Regions from separate parts of the Homo sapiens genome. Here region 1 is linked to region 2. Evidence: promoter capture Hi-C in 16 types of primary human blood cells and fetal thymus (Javierre and others, 2016). All regions are on one chromosome and are shown on one strand. Each heading gives the region's core, a stretch centred on a gene start or on the middle of the fragment in contact. The rest is flanking DNA. Distances are from core to core; before and after follow the strand shown.

The links. The method cuts DNA at HindIII sites, captures the fragments that hold promoters and counts their contacts. A CHiCAGO score of 5 or more calls a contact.
Region 1: a fragment that was not itself captured here is called in contact with the fragment with the promoter of EXOC1 in region 2 in 1 of 17 cell types (total B cells); the score reaches 5.7 in total B cells.

What each region holds. Positions count from the first base shown.
Region 1 is chr4:56,992,716-56,998,254 of GRCh38, reverse strand. POLR2B (RNA polymerase II subunit B) reads right to left here. Exons shown (of 25, transcript NM_000938.3): 4 at 3,739-3,851; 5 at 3,389-3,608; 6 at 2,846-3,004. It also overlaps the pseudogene LOC124900913. Among named protein-coding and RNA genes, the nearest start is that of POLR2B, 17 kb to the right of the region's middle. The HindIII fragment of the contact is 465 bases long and covers 2,762-3,226 here.
Region 2 is chr4:55,851,712-55,857,283 of GRCh38, reverse strand. It overlaps EXOC1 (exocyst complex component 1), which reads right to left and starts at 3,636. Exons shown (of 19, transcript NM_001024924.2): 1 at 3,331-3,636. RefSeq lists a silencer at 3,745-3,844. The HindIII fragment of the contact is 2,625 bases long and covers 2,379-5,003 here.

The DNA.
Region 1 (5,539 bases), core at 1,745-4,244, 1.1 Mb before region 2:
CTCCAGACTTAGTCTCCAAAAAAAAAAAAAAAATTTAAAGAAAAAAAATGTCTACAACATGCACTCCCCAAAAATCTTATCTAAAACTGAACTTATTATGTTCTCTCCTAAATCAGTTACTCGAAGTTCACCGCTCTCCTGGAACCTCAGAATACAAATCATAGTATCTTAATTGACTCATCCTTTTATCTTATCAAACCTATCATCAAATCCAGATCATTTTCCTTTCTCTGTCTCTAATTAATTCATTTTGTTCAGAGTTGCCATGATAGTCTCCCTAATATACTGTTTATGTCTTTGCCCTCTGTCATCCAGGCCGATGCCTCTCGACAAAGAATGCACATCACAATCACCTGGGGACCTCTTTCAAATACTTGTACCTGGGCCCCATTCCACTCCCATTCTCACTATTGAGTCAGCAGATTTGGAAATGGGCCCCTTTTGTACTTGGAAGAGTCTTAGGTTATTGAGGTGAACCTTTAGTTAAGATCCACTAATCCAGATCCACCCTGATCATCTACTTGTCACTCACTATTCAACATACTTCATCCAGCTCAATTAGAGCTATCTTCCAGTGATTCTCCAAATACTCATCCCCACTCTCCTCTAATAAGAATGTCCTTCCAGTTTCTCTCTGCTTATATAAATCCATACCATCTTTCAAAGTGTAAGTCAAGTCCCATCTTCTCTATTAAGTTTCATGAACTGGTCAGGGGCGGTGGCTCATGCCAGCACTTTGGAAGGCCAAGGCAGGCAGGTCACTTGAGCTCAGGAGTTCGAGACCAGCCTAGGCAACATAGTGAAACCCTGTCTCTACAAAAAATACAAAAATTAGCCAGGTGTGGTGGAGCATGCCTATAATCTAACTACTTCGGAGGCTGAAGTACGAGAATCGCTTGGGCCAGGAGGTGGTGGTTGCAGTGAGCCCAGATCGCGCCACTACGCTCCAGCCTAGGCAACAGAATGAGACCCTGTCTCAGAAAAAAAAAAAAAAACTTTGCATGGACCACACCATACTAGTAACCTCATTCTCCTCCAAATTTCTATAAAACTGTTATATGTAATAGGTGTCATTTGGCCTCTGCACTGTGTTACTACCATTTAATGTCTAAAGCTTGTATTCCCAATAAAACCATTCTTTTTTTTCTCTTTTTTTCTTTTTGGAACAGGCTCTGGCTCTGTCACCCACGCTGGTGTGCAGTGGCGCCAATCTGGGCTCACTGCAACCTCAGCACTCAAGCCATCTTCCCACCTCAGCTTCCCGAGTAACCGGGACTACAGGTGCCTGCCACCACATCCAGCTAATTTTTGGGTTTTTGTTGTTGTTGTTTTGCTAGAGAAAGTGTTTTGCCATGTTGCCCAGGCTGGTCTCACATCCCGGGCTCAAGCAATCCACCCACCTCAGCCTCCCAAAGTGCTGGGATTACAGGCATGAGCCACCACACCTGGCCACCTTCTCAATAAGGATTGTGTGTTTTCATGATCTCTTAACAATACCCAGCAATGTTGTGCACATGGGAAGAATGCTTATCTTACAAATAAAATATTATGAAAAACATTCTTGAGGTGACAGGTATGCTAAGTACCCTAATTTGATCATTACACATTGTATACACGTATCAAAATATCACATTGCATCCCACACATGCATAATTATTAAATAAAATTGAAGGCCGGGCACAGTGGCTCACGCCTGTAATCCCAGCACTTTTGGAGGCCGAGGCGGGCGGATCACGAGGTCAGGAGATCGAGACCATCCTGGCTAACACGGTGAAACCCCATCTCTACTAAAAATACAAAAAAAAAATTAGCCGGGCGCGGTGGCGGGCGCCTGTAGTCCCAGCTACTCGGGAGGCTGAGGCAGGAGAATGGCGTGAACCCAGGAGGCGGAGCTTGCACTGAGCCGAGATCATGCCACTGCACTGCAGCCTGGTGACAGGGCAAGACTCCGTCTCAAAAAAAAAAAAAAAAAAAAATATATATATATATATACACACACACACACACATATACATACACACACACACACACACACACACACACACACATGAACTGAAATAGAGGTTTTCCAAGATAGCTGTAAAAATTAAATCAAGCAATCTGAGTAACAGAATTGGCATACAGCAAATATTTAAGAACTGCTAGCTACTACCAGGTTCCATTATTATAAGCAACCTATGCTTATAACTATACCAGTGGTCTGCAGCTTCTAAGCTGGTACCCAATGATTCCTGCCTCCTACTATTGCCCTTGTAATACCCTCTTTAGTGTGAGCTGGACATACTGACTTGCAACCAACAAAAAGAACATGGCAAAAATGACAGGATGTTGCTACCACTTTTAAGTTATAAAAGACTGATTTCCACCTTGCTCGTACTCTCTATGGCTCTTTTTGCTTACTCTCTCTGAAGAAGCAAGCTGCTATGCTGCTGTCAGCTGCTATACGCAGAGGCCCACATGGCAAGGAACAAAGAAAGGCTTCCAGCCAACAGCGAGCAAAGACCTGGGACTCAGTCCAACAGCCAATGAAGAACTAAATCCTGCAGACAACCATGGGAATGACTCTTGAGATTACGGCAGCCCAGGGAAACATCTGATTGCAGCCTTGTGAGAGTTGCTTGGCCAAAAGACCCAGCTAAGCTACACCCAGATTCCTGACTCACAGAAGCCGTGAGATGATAAATGTTGCTAGAGGAGTAATTTGTTACACAGCGATAGGTAAACAATACGATATATAACAACAATATGCTCCAGAAAAGCTTCTATGGACAAAGAAGGCAGTCTAGTAAATTTTAAAACAAAGCACAAAGGAATAAACCCAAATAGCATCATATCCAGTCCATACCTGTCCTCCTCTTGCCAGCATGCTAACCCATATAGTACTGGTGGGTCGGGAAGAATTCTCAAGACATGATCTACACTCTCCTGTGTAGGCATATTTAGAATCCTTTTTGGCAAACACATAAACTGTGTTTGTTGCCATTTTCTCTTGGGCAATCAGAACCTATTTGGACAATAAGAAAGTTACAGCCATAAAATCCAAAACATCACTGAAGAGAAAAGAGAGTAAAATCTGCATCTTAATTTAATCTGACCATATAGGCTCACTGAAATATTTAATTCTTCAACTTTACAAACTCCATTTTGCATAAATGCTTCATAGAAATACATAAACTCCAAAACTGACCAAATTCCCAGTGCATGTTATATACAGCTAAATAAAGCTTTGGTTTATATAAGTTTAGCTGTCATACCCTAAACAAGTCAACTGTCAGTGCCAGGTTATCCTGCAGGAAAATCTTTCTTTCTTTTTTTTTTTTTTTTCATTTCAACTTTAAACTAAATTTTAACTACCATTTTGTAATTTTTTAAAATAATGTTACTATACCTTTTCTGATCCATTAATAATGAAATAGCCACCAGGATCCAAAGGGCATTCATTTAACTCACAAAGATCACGATCTGTCAAGCCATTCAAAAGGCAGTAAGTTGACCGCAACATAATTGGAATTTTTCCTATAAAAGTTTTCTGATGCTGAGTCTGAAGTTGTTCTTCACCTTCTTTAATGACTGTTTTTGTTATATCAACATAAAGCGGAGCAGAATACCTTTGAAAATAAAAGTAGATCACAGTTAAGCAATAGGGTATCTGTTAAAACAAATCCTCAAGTGGTTAAAATTACATTTTCAAAATTCTATTTCAGTATCTACTGCTGACAAGGAAAAATTCTTTCTTACGTGAGATTCCTTAATCTAGCTTCATTGGGCATCATTGGTGAAGGAGCACCATCTCTTTCCCAATGGGTAGGCTTGGAAAGATAAATTTGTTCAAACTTCAGCAAATATCGTGGCTGAAATTAAACAAAAAAACATGAAAAGGGTAAATAATTTTTTCCATAAAAGTTTTAGTGATTCCATTTTAATTGACATTAACATTTTAAGTACAAGCAACTCTACAAACTGGCAAAATTAATCCATTTTACTGAAATGGGGACTTCCCAAAGTCAATATCCATATTGCATAGACGTTAAGTTTTAAACCAAATCACTTTCTTTTTTCCTCTTTTCTTAAAAATTTTTTTTCACATTAGACAGGTAATGTGCTAACAAGGTTTGTAACAAGGTTTAAGGAAGGCACATCTCACACCCAATCATCACACACTTATCAACTACAGAAGGATCTGCTAATTGCTTTCTTAAGGCAGAAGACAAAAAGAGACTTAATATACTAAAAGTAAAGACTGTACACATCATGTGCTCTGAGTTTATATGAAACAGTTAAAATGGATTTACATTAATGATCTACATAGTTTCTTGTGCCCTCTCCTTGGTAAGCATCATCAAAAATACAAAGTGACCAGAGAACAAAGATAACAAATCCAGACAACTAGAACTATGCTCTAATCTAATCAATAGAACATTTTAAAAAATAAACCTCTCTTCAGTTAAATATACAAATTAATCTGTCAAAGGAGTAGAGTTAACAAAAGAAAAAGATTTTTTTATTTTAAAAAACACACAAAATATCCTAATCATTCTATATAAAGGGCTGAGAATTTCCAACTCTGGCTGGAATATAGCTTAGTTCATAGAAAAAAAAAGAAATTTTTCAATTAAACATTCACTTGCTGCCTAATAAAACAAGATCCATGAGGACAACTTTCTAGAGATAAATGGATAGTGTACTTTTCTCTAAATCAAGTCTCAGAGAAGAAAACAGGAGTAAGCAGACGTTTTACTAATGATTAATTATTGACACTCAAGTCTCCCAAGCTGGGCTGGATAAAGGGCAAAGAGAACGGTGGTGATAACGAACCAAAGGGAAGCCAATCCTCTACTCCTTATCTGTGCCATCATCTAGTCTAGGTCATTATTATCTTAATCATAGGCTATTCTAAGATTTTTATCTCCTCCAGTCTCTTTTGTTTTGTTTCATTTTGTTTTGTTTTGTTTGAGACAGGGTCTCACTCTGTCACCCAGGATGGAGTGCAGTGGCGTGATCTCGGCTCACTGCAGCCTCCACCTCCTGGGTTCAAGTGATTCTCCTGCCTCAGCCTCCCAAGTAGCTGGGACTACAGGCGCACCACCAGGCCCGGCTAATTTTTGTATTTTTTGGTAGAGATGGGGCTTCACCAAGCTGGCCAGGATGGTCTCAAACTCCTGGCCTCAAGAGATCTGCCTGCCTAGGCCTCCCAAAGTGCTGGGATTACAGGCATGAGCCACCACATCTGGCCTCCTCTAGCCTCTTTCTATTCCAAGCAAGCATCACTTTCCAAAGTAACTTTTCTAAAATAATGCTTTATGTATATTCTTTGACAGTCTCTCAGTAATTCCTCATAACATCCAATGACATTCAAAGCTTTCAACAATCGGGTTCCATCTTATCTTCCTAATGCCTATTAAAAATAGAGAAGCCCTGTAATCCCAGCACTTTGGGAGGCCAAGGAGGGCAGATCATGAGGTCAGGAGATCGAGACCATCCTGGCTAATACGGCAAAACCCTGTCTCTACTAAAAATACAAAAAAATAATAGCCGGGCG
Region 2 (5,572 bases), core at 2,387-4,886:
TGGCATGAACTCGGGAGGCGGAGCTTGCAGTGAGCCGAGACTGCGCCACTGCACTACAGCCTGGGAGACAGAGCCAGACTCTGTCTCCAAAAAAAAAAAAAAAAAAAAAAAAAAAGAAAAAAAGGAAATGAAGTAATGAAACATGCTAAAATATTGATGAATCTTGAAAAGATTATGCTAAGTGAAAGGAGTCAGCCACAAAAGACCACGTATTGTATGATTCCATTTATATGAAATATCCAGAGTAGGAAAATCCATAGATACAGAAATATAAGTGGTTTTCGGGAGCTGGAAGGGAAGGTGGAAACGAGGATTGACTGTTAATGGGTATGGAGTTTCTTTTTTGGGGTGATGACAATGTCTTTCAACTAGATAGTAATGATGGTTATACAACCTTGTGAATATGCCAAAAATCACTCAATTATACAATTGAAAAGGGTAAATTTTATGATACATAATCTCAATAAAACTGTTATAAAAATAGGTTTCCACTTATCTCCTTTTTCTTATCTAACTCAGCATCTTTTCAAACATCAACTTAAAATAATTTTAAATCTCTATTTTATTTTTCATATACATATTTGTGTGGATATGTATTACAATTTTTCAATGCAAATGTGTAGTATTTCATACATGTGAGCTTGCCTAGGACACTAACTTCTAAAACACTATTTCTTTCTATGGGAAAATGAAGAAATCATGATTTTTAAATAAATGATTTACAACGTATTTTTATAGCACAATGACTATTTTGTAAAACAAGTCTTTCCAATATTTTACTCAATCTGTAAAACTTCTATCTCTGCTCCAATTCCAAAAATTGCTTTTCTCATAAAATTCACATCTTCCCACTTCCACTTCATCTCAGCCTCTAGTCTTCTGACATTGCCCTTCTTTCTGTTCTCTTAATCTGGCCTCTCCAAGTTTACTTCTTTTCCAACCTAGCCTGGAGACAGTGCTCATTTCCCTATACCTAAACTATCCCCTACAATTATTTCACCCTGTTTGTAGACCAGCTGATCTTGTTTTTATCAATCTCCATAAACTGTATTATTTTCTTCACTTCTCTTGGACTACCAAATGCCACTTTCAAAAGCCACATATCCACGCTCATTGCGTGCATTACAAATATCTACATCCAGTGAAAGTTAGACTTTCAATGCTGCTCGGCAATTAATCCCTCATTTGATGATTCCTTTTTCCGTTCCCCATGACTATTGTTGTAAATCCTTATTACTCTCCTTCAGTTTCCAGGTCTAGCAGTTAGCCTCCTCCCGCTCTGCAAATGACTTAACAATCTACCTTGCAGAGGATATAAAAGCCATGAAATACAATTATCCCCAATTGCTTGCTTCTCCGTCTCTCCACACCTTCACCCAACCTCTCCTCCTTTTGGCTTATTATAGAGTGTCCATGCTGCTAATCCCTTAATATGTTGTAGGGCCCAGACACTATGTTATATTTCTTCCTAAGCCCAAGCCACAATGGCACTGGCCAGTTTACTTTTCTATCTCTGGGCTTTTGTTCATGCAACCTTCTTTTCCTAGAATTCTCTTCTCCCTAGGAAATTACAATTCATCCCTCAAGATTGTGCTAAAATGTCATCTTTTCTGTAAAGTAGCCCCCTCCCTGCAGCCGCCCCACGCAAAGAGTAATTTCTACCTCTCTAACACTTCCCCTCTACTTCATAAATACGGCATTTATGAATTGTATTTTCTAGCTAGCTGTATTTTATCCCCTATTAAAAGTAGGACCATGTCTTAATCATCTTTGTATTCCTAGAACTTGACAAACTAGGCATTTAACAAATGCTTAAATTCACTAACATGACAGCTATAGCTCCTCCAAGATTCCCCTTTCCTAACTTTCACATCTATAAGCAAATGTCCAGGTTCAAAATCTACCATATTTGCTTCCCTATTCCCTTATCAACATGAAATCTGCTACCACATTCTGCGATTTCCCCCCATCTACATGTAATTTATTCCTTTCTTTTCGCACTGCAAATATACTGACCCAGGTTCATATCAACTTTACTTAACCCTACAAAATCTGGTTCTCTTTGCAAGGTCCCACAACCCTGAACAACAAGATAATTTTAAAAGACAGTTTGTATCACATCACGCTTTTACTCAACGTTTTCCTAATGTTCTCAAAAACATTCCACTCCAAACACTCTGTTCATTTTGGACATCAAATCTTCACTTTGGTACTTTCCATGTAAGGAATATCATCTCCGCCCTATCCAAACCCTAATTACACTTCATGGTTTACATGAAGTTGATTCAATGAAGATCTTAATCCAAAGTGATCTCTCCTCTAAATTTCTACAGCACTTACTGCATTTGCCGTCTAATGGGCTCATTAAATCATAAGCTTCTCTATCTCAAGAATTCTCTTAAAGAAGGGAGGGATGTTCATCATAGTTTTGTGTTTAGTGGATACTTAAATATCTATTAAGGTAATTAGAACTGAATAGTAAAAACTGGTCAAATGAATAATAGGGACCAACGTTTACCACATACTCCTTCTCTGGCTAAAAGCAACTGAGTGTACAGTAAGAGGCAAAACAAGACAGGATTGGGCATACCTCATAAAGGAGTTAGCCATAATGAAAAGCAGTATGTGACTCTTCATTCATTCAGCAAATACTCATGCTTATTAGGTGGCAGACACTATTCTAGGTTACAGTAGTCAACATGACAGATATGTTTATGAAGACCTGAAGCCGGGTGTTTCTATGGCATTTACATCCTAAGAGTCGAGTGATTAACTCTTCAGTCTTTACGGTACTTTTCTGAAAGTCAGTAAATAAATCCCTAGAGGTCCTCTAAAATTATTCTCCAGGTCTGAGAACCCATATCTGACCACGTTCCAAAGGCAGCCATCCACTGCTTACTCTGTACTGGTTGTTTCCTTCAGCTCAGTTGGACCACCACACTGTGTGACAAATAGCCTGTCAGTGTGAGTGCCCGTGTGCATTGGGCCCTGTATGCTGCTGAGATATATTAATGCATGAAGCATTGCCATCTAGAAGATATAACTGTGCAAGGAAATAGAGAAATACACTTAAGAGATTTGGCGGGGGGTGGGGGGGAGTTGGGGTTGGGGGGCCGGGATGTGAATTTGGACAAAGAGGAAGGCACAGTCACGCTCTCCTCTCCTGGACCACGCCAAAGAGCTTACGATCAGGGTCATTTTGCACAAACAAAATCTGGTTCCGATGGGCGGAACCGTAATGGGGCCCGTGAGGACTGCCCTCCCAGCTCCGCATTCTCCTAGACCCGAGGACAAGGGACTGGAGAATGCTCTGACCAAACTTCGTCTTACCGGGACAAACGGGGAAAGGAAGGTCAGAAGGAGCGGTGCCCGACCCCAGGCGTGGAGACAGCAGCCGGACTGAGGAGCCGCCTTAGACCCTGGTGCCTGTCAGCTCGTCTGTCCGCCGCCGCCGGGACTACCGGGCAGCCGCGGCCGAAGGCTTACCGCAAGGCCGGACTGAGCCTGGCTGTGCCGAGGCGGGTCTTCCAAAACGGAGACCGGATGGGGGCCACTAGGATACGCCCCTCAATAAAGCGTTGAACGGGAAGCGGCCGTTCCCCCAACACTTCCTATATCCGGGCACGTGACAAACTCCGCGCCGGAAGTTGACCGCGTAGAGAAGGAAGAAGCAGCGATGGGAGAAAAAGGGAGCGGCCAATAGACGCGGAGGGGCGGGGCGCCAACCGACGGGCGTGGCCAGGCGGAACAAGGCCTCATTGGAGGGGCGTGTCAGGGAAGGGCAGGGGCGGGGCCTTTGTGGCACAGAAACTGACTTGGGAGTTGGGGATTAAGAGTTATTTATTCAGATATTTGCAGCAATTCATTTAAGAAGAAATTCGATTAAATGTTTTCTTTTTTCATACGTAAAGCTCTATTAACTCTAGATCTTTGCTACTTAAACTTTGGAGAGCTTAAATGAGTTAAATCAGAATCCCTGCGGGTGGGACCCAGACATCAGTACTTTTAATATCTTCCCAGATGATTCTCATATGCAGCTAAGGTCAAGAACCATTGTCCTCATGACCTTGATACTCAAAGTGTGGTCCGTGGATCAGCTGCTTGGGTATCATCTGGGGGCTTTTTAGGAAATGCAGCCTCTCTGGCTCACTTCAGATCTACTGAATCAGAATCTGCATCTTAGCAAGATGATGCTTATGCATATTTAAGTTTGGGATGCATAAATGATGCCAATGTTGCTGGTTGCAGGTAGGTGTTTTATTTATTCAATATTCCTGGCACCTTTTTTTTTTAATGCTAGGCACTTTGATTCCAGGTACAGAGGTGATTCAGGCATGAATCTTAACCTAAAGGAGTTCACAGTGTGGTAGGACTAGACAAGGTGTAGGTACAAATATATATAAAATAGGACACAAAATAAGTGACCAAAGAGAGGTACAGATCAGATAAATGTGCTAGAAATTTAAATGAGCAAACAGTAGTTAGAATACTTTTCACTTTCATCAAATGACTTCCCTTTTAAGAGCAGGATCTGGTTATATCTTTACAAAGACCCTTTCCTGCTTGGCACCGGAATGCTTACTGTGGACACTCTATGACAATTGCATGTGTTTTTTGGTCCTATTATCTTTCTTTTATTTACCTGTATGTTTATAGCCCTCCTCAAAGTTGGGAAATGAATTGCATTTCAGAAGCCTAGATCTCTTTCTTGAACCTCAAGATTTGTGTATATACTGCCCATCGCCTGACATTTCCACTTGGATGTCTTATAGACACCTCAAACTTGTGTGTCCAAAAATTAAATTATCCTCTCTCCTCTTGGATTCCCTGCAAAGTGACACTTATATGCAATAGTTTATTTGGAAATTTGATCCCAGGGAGCAAAATGAGGGAAGAGGAAGAAGACAAAACAAAAAGGGAGATGCAGTATAAGAATGTGTTACTGAGTTGGTCATCACCATATTTGAATGTTTTCTTAGTCCCTTAGGACCTTCTAAGAAGCTTTATGAAATGAGTCTCAGAACTGTCCATTAAAGGAAAGAACGGAGGAAGCATTTGTATGTCGGCTCCTGTCCTCTTTGATCGAAGGTTAATGCCCTTGGGCATTAACTACTTCACACTTACAAATCGCACAGTTGTGAATGCCAAGCTGACTCCCACATCAGAGACATGCTGGGGCAGGAAGTGAGAGGAGAGGTGCTGGTATTTCGCACTTGTTCAAAGGTCATCAAACCTGCTCCGAGCAGGTTGCTGCAGCAGTGGTTAGAATAATAGGCTGAAGGGATTTGAAGTCATGGCCTAAGTTGCACAGAAGGACATAGAAGGTGTCCATATCTTGCAGCACTCTGATCTGCCTGTGTGCTCTGTTATGTTCAGTCCTTCACAGAGGTCTCTTCAAGGTGATGGCCAGCCACAATCTCAGCAAAGCCTTAATATAAGAGAGTTAATAGAATAAGCTTCAGTTTTTACTGCTGCATCAATGTCAGGACCATACTTGTATTAACTCCCTCTTCCACTACCCATTCTAATTTTCCCTCACCATTGACCAGCACATCAGCTGGTCTAAGTTGTT